2 separate regions of the Homo sapiens genome follow, and region 2 is linked to region 1. The links are contacts of gene promoters, found by promoter capture Hi-C in human tissues and cell types (Jung and others, 2019). All regions are on one chromosome and are shown on one strand. The core of a region is centred on a gene start or on the middle of the fragment in contact, and the rest is flanking DNA. Distances in the headings are between cores, read along the strand shown. Region 1 holds the start of FAM181B (family with sequence similarity 181 member B). Region 2 overlaps CCDC90B-AS1 (CCDC90B antisense RNA 1).

What was found. Contacts are between HindIII fragments. The study calls those that stand out against the background at their distance.
Region 2: a fragment that was not itself captured here is called in contact with the fragment with the promoter of FAM181B in region 1 in 1 of the 25 tissues and cell types used here (mesenchymal stem cells).

The regions. Positions count from the first base shown.
Region 1 is chr11:82,732,585-82,735,362 of GRCh38, reverse strand. FAM181B (family with sequence similarity 181 member B) reads left to right here and starts at 1,499. Exons shown (of 1, transcript NM_175885.4): 1 at 1,499-2,778. The coding sequence starts at 1,634. The HindIII fragment of the contact is 21,418 bases long and covers 1-2,778 here.
Region 2 is chr11:83,306,183-83,308,960 of GRCh38, reverse strand. The region is part of intron 1 of CCDC90B-AS1 (CCDC90B antisense RNA 1); the gene reads right to left. LOC105369420 (a long non-coding RNA gene) reads right to left here. Exons shown (of 2, transcript XR_950379.2): 1 at 2,263-2,778; 2 at 1,819-2,078. Among named protein-coding and RNA genes, the nearest start is that of CCDC90B, 21 kb to the right of the region's middle. The HindIII fragment of the contact is 4,088 bases long and covers 1-2,778 here.

The sequences.
Region 1 (2,778 bases), core at 250-2,749:
AGTCCCCAACTTATGATGGTTCAACTTTATGATTTTCCAACTTGAATCAGTGTATTACATGCATTTTAACCTACAATATTTTCAACTTACAATGTGTTTATCAGGATGTTGTTGCTCTATCACAAATTGAGAAGCATCTATGATCTCACTTAATGCTCATGAACACCCTATGATCCAGAAGACACGTAAGGGATATAGTCACCTTTTTGTGTTTCAGAGAAGTAAGGGTGAATACTCATCCAGGCTATGGAACAATGTATCATTTAAATATCACAAGTGCCCTGTGGGGAGGGCAACTTTACCTGCATTTAACATGAGTAAGCTAAACAGAGAGAGTACGCTGGTTTGTCTAAAGCCATGCACTCAGCAGAGCAAGGATTTCAACCTAAGTCATGAGGTTATTGAGTGGTGGCTAAGACCAGAACCCAAGCCTCTTCTGAATCTCTTGTGAAAATGACCTTATTGCTCATTTTCTCTATCTATCCCAAAGAGGATTGCCCAGGTGAAATTAGTTTTAAGTGAACTTCATGATGATCCCTGAAATGCAATGAAAATTCCAGGGATAACCTAAATGGTATGACAGGTAGGGGAGAGGTTCCAATCCATCTTTTATTCTAACATGCTGAGAGTTTTATACACACACAGTGTTCTCAAGTAACAGGGGGCTTAGCCAGATCGACTCCTTTCTCCATTGCCTCCTGCTATGTGTTAATAAAAGATGGGCCACTGCTGGCCTCAATTTACTGTTAGCCAATTGTTACTCGTAACAATCAAGTGGCAAACAGTCAAGAAGAAAGAGCACTGGGCTTGAGAATCCTGGGAAAACTCAGGTTAGAATCTTAGGATCAGGTCTAGAGCTTTAAGAAATACTCATTTTCCTTCCCCATCTTAATAGATGAGAAAGGCAAGGGCAAGAGAGGACGCAAGTATTGTCAAGGGCTTAGGAATGGCTTTGGAGTCAGAATGGGCTAGATCTGACTTTGGCCAACTCACTGAACCTCCCTGAGGTGCAGTGTCCACGTTTGTTGAATGGCGATAACATGTAATTCACAGGGCTGTTGTTCAAGGATTAAATGAGATAATAGATGGACAGCGCCTGGCAGAAGCAAGCGCCCAGAAGCTGGTGGGTGTTGTTATACAGCTGGACTGAAACCCACGTCTCTAGACTCCTGCCTTCTTGCCTCAGGAGAGGCACCACCGCAAGTACCTGCAGAAGCCTATCAAGCGCTGCAGCGGCCTCATGGGCCTGAACTGGAGTTTGAGACCAGCCATCTCTTCCTCACCCCTTGCGGTTAGAGGAGTCAAGAGAAACACCACGGGGCAAAGGGAAACGAAGGAGTTAAGGCGTTGAGCTTCAGAAAGCTCAGAAAACTAAAGCGACCCCCCACTCCTCCAAGCCAGGCTAAGTAAGCCCCTCCCCTCTACCACCGGGACGGTCGCCGCGCGCTCCCTCCCTCCGCCCCTTGCTTACAAGACCTAATGAGCTCCCCCGGGAGGCAGCGCAGCGAGCCAGGCCCGGAACTAGTAGGCTGCGCCGCGCGCGCCGCGCCGGGGCGGGAGCTGGGTCTGGGCGGCGGGCAGGAGCTGGCGGGGGCGCACGGGCAGCGCTGCGGACAGCCCGGGAGCCGCGGCGATGGCGGTGCAGGCGGCGCTCCTCAGCACGCACCCTTTCGTGCCCTTCGGCTTCGGGGGCTCCCCGGACGGGCTAGGGGGCGCCTTCGGAGCCCTGGACAAGGGCTGCTGTTTCGAGGACGATGAGACCGGGGCTCCGGCGGGTGCGCTGCTGTCGGGAGCCGAAGGAGGGGACGTGCGCGAGGCCACCCGCGATCTACTCAGCTTCATTGACTCGGCGTCCAGCAACATCAAGCTGGCGCTGGACAAGCCGGGCAAGTCGAAGCGGAAGGTGAACCACCGCAAGTACCTGCAGAAGCAGATCAAGCGCTGCAGCGGCCTCATGGGCGCCGCGCCCCCCGGCCCGCCCTCCCCGAGCGCCGCCGACACGCCAGCCAAACGGCCGCTGGCCGCCCCTAGCGCCCCGACAGTCGCGGCCCCGGCCCACGGCAAGGCTGCCCCCCGGCGGGAGGCGTCGCAGGCCGCCGCGGCCGCCAGCTTGCAAAGCCGAAGTCTGGCCGCGCTCTTCGACTCGCTGCGCCACGTCCCCGGGGGTGCCGAGCCGGCGGGGGGTGAGGTGGCTGCGCCGGCGGCCGGGCTAGGAGGTGCGGGCACTGGGGGCGCGGGAGGGGACGTGGCAGGCCCCGCGGGGGCCACGGCGATCCCAGGGGCCAGGAAGGTCCCGCTGCGGGCACGCAATCTGCCTCCGTCCTTCTTCACGGAGCCGTCCCGGGCAGGCGGCGGCGGGTGTGGCCCGTCGGGGCCGGACGTGAGCTTGGGCGACCTGGAGAAGGGCGCGGAGGCCGTGGAGTTCTTTGAGCTGCTGGGGCCCGACTACGGCGCCGGCACGGAGGCGGCAGTCTTGCTTGCCGCCGAGCCTCTCGACGTGTTCCCCGCCGGAGCCTCCGTACTGCGGGGACCCCCGGAGCTGGAGCCCGGCCTCTTTGAGCCGCCGCCGGCAGTGGTGGGAAACCTACTGTACCCCGAGCCCTGGAGCGTCCCGGGCTGCTCCCCGACCAAAAAGAGCCCCCTGACTGCCCCCCGCGGCGGCTTGACCTTGAACGAGCCCTTGAGCCCCCTGTACCCCGCCGCTGCGGATTCTCCCGGCGGGGAGGACGGGCGGGGCCATTTGGCCTCTTTCGCCCCCTTCTTTCCAGACTGCGCCCT
Region 2 (2,778 bases), core at 152-2,651, 570 kb before region 1:
CTGTGAATATTGTTGAAACAACAATATTAATAAAGCAATAGAAAGCTTTGAGAGAATTGACTTCAGTTTTGAAAAAAGTTCTGCTGTGGTTAAAATAGTACCAGACAGCATCATGTGCTACAAAGAAATCTTTCAGCGAAAGGAAGGTTCAATTGATGTGGCAAACTTCATTTTTGTATTTTATTTTACTATTTTATTTTATTTTATTTTACTTTATTTTATTTTATTTTACTTTATTTTATTTTATTTTATTTTATCTTATTTTATTTTATTTTATTTTATTTTATTTTATTTTATTTTATTTTATTTTATTTTGTTTTATATTTTGAGGCAGGATCTCACTCTGCCATCCAGGCTGGAGTGCAGTGGCACAACCTTGAATTCCTGGGCTCAAGCAACCCTTCCATCCTACCCTCCCTAGTAGATGGTAGTATAGGCATGCACCACCACACTCAGCTAATTTCTTTTTATTTTCTGTAGACACACGGTCTCACTATGTTGCCCAGGCTGGTCTTAAACTCCTGGCCTCAAAAGATTCTCCCACCTCAGCCTCCCAAAGTGCTGGGATTTACAGGTATGAGGCAATATACCCAGCCTGTTGTCTTATTTTAAGAAATTGCCACAACCACTCCAACCTTCAGCAACCACCACGCTGATCAGTCAGCAGCCACCAAAATCGAGACAAGACCCTCCACCAGCAAAAAGATTACAAGTAGCTGATGGTTTGGATATCATTAGCATTTTTTTAGCAAATAAAGTACTTTTAAGGTATGTACTTTTGTAGATATAATGCTTTGCACACTTAATAGAGTTTATAAGGTAAACATAACTTCTATATGAACTGGGAAACCAAAACATTCTTTTTACTCACTTTATTGTGTTAGTCTGGAACTAAACCACATTATTTCTGAGCTATGGCTGTACTTGTCTCTTCCCCTACTCAAAAACTCCTCTAAGGAAAGAAGTTGTCTCCAGAACAAAAAAGTATAAGATGAAGGAGCAAGTTCTGGTGTAGAAGCTGCAGCAATTCATCCAGATGATCTGCGATTATTGATAATGGTAGCCACACAAAACAACAAATTTTCCATGGAGATTAAATAGCCTTCTATTGGAAGAAGATGCCATCCAGGACTTTTGTAGCTAGAGAAGAGAGTACAATGCCTAACTTCAAGGCTTCATAGGACACACACTGTAGGCTAGGTTTGGAGTACTATTCAACCTTCAGACATTCTTGAACACCCCATGCCTACCATAGTATCTGTACCAAGCACACAAAGTATATTGAGCTTCACTGAAAGAGGTTATTGAAGGTTGTCAAAATGTCAGGCAATTCACATATTGCATACTGGTAAGGGCTCTTGAAAGTTAAAGAACACCTACCTAAGAGTATGTAAATTATTAAAACATTTTAGAGGGCAATATAGCAATACATTCCAACATTTTAAATATGCAAACTCTTTGACTCAGCCATTCCATTTCTAGGGATTCTTCCTATAGACATTCTTACGTACATGCACTAAGAAGTATCTAAAAGGATGTGCAGTACAGCTTTGTTTTGTTTATAATAACAAAAAAAGAATACAAAGTATCCATTAATAGGAGCACCAGTTAAATGAATAATGTTATGCCTATACCCTGTAATACTATTGAGTTATTAAGAATGAAATAGAATTCTATGTACAAACTTGGGAAAATGTCCAAGACATAATGATAAGTGAGAAAATTAAGCTGCAACACACTGGAAAGAAAGTGCACCAATCCGTTAACAATATCATCTTCAGGGTAAGGAATTAGAGAATAATTTTATTCTGAACTCTATACATTTTCATACCTTTTTATTTCTAAGGAAGCAATACATTTATAATAAAAAAAAATGCATTTTCTTAAAAAGTAGAAGCCCACCCTCCACTACACCCCCAGCTTCCCTTTTGGATGCAGTGGAAGATAAGCACTGGGCTGTTCATGGGCTGGAAAAGCTAGAATCTTCTTTTCTCCAGGTGCTCCATGAGAGAGGCATAGCTCTGATGGCTGCTCCCTCCCAGCTGCCAATCACGCCCTCTCTTCCTCTGATAATTCTACTGTAGGATTGGGGGAGAGCATAGAACAGGATAGGCAGGAGAGGGGCAGGTAGGTAGGAGAGCTCTGACATCAAAAGCTGCCTCTGCCTGTCTTTCCCCTCAGGTCTGCCTTGTCAAGCCCAAAATTAGAAGGGAAATGAACTGTAGCTAAATCAGCTAACTGAACCAAGAAACAGCCCTCTACCTTCACTTCCAGTGACATCAATCCAGTGATCCTGGACAGGGTCCCCCAGCAGTAGAGAGTTCTGCAGACACACAGGCTGACCTGTCCAGGTACTGCCTGTAGGAGGCAGATAGGGACACAGCTACTTGAAAAGGAAAGGACAGAAACAACTGAATGAATTCCATGAATTGGTAAATTGCCTAATCTAATTTTTCTCTTTGGATAAGTGTCCTTTGTCTCTGCTTCAGATGGTGGAAAGGCACACAAGAGTGAGGCTGCTGCCAGCTTTCTTCTAATGACATGCCGGGACCCACGCCTGTTATTACCAATATTCTAGAATCTGAGGAAAGGGCATTATGCCAGATAAGCCTCTCCCTCCCTCCCACTGTGTAAGCTTTAGAATCTGAACTGGACTGAGCGGGCCTGAAGTATACACTTCTGGTAAATAAAAATAATGCTAATATTATATTATTAGCTCTAGTAATGCTATCATTATTAGTTAGGTAATAGCTCAATAAATACCACCTTCTTACTCTG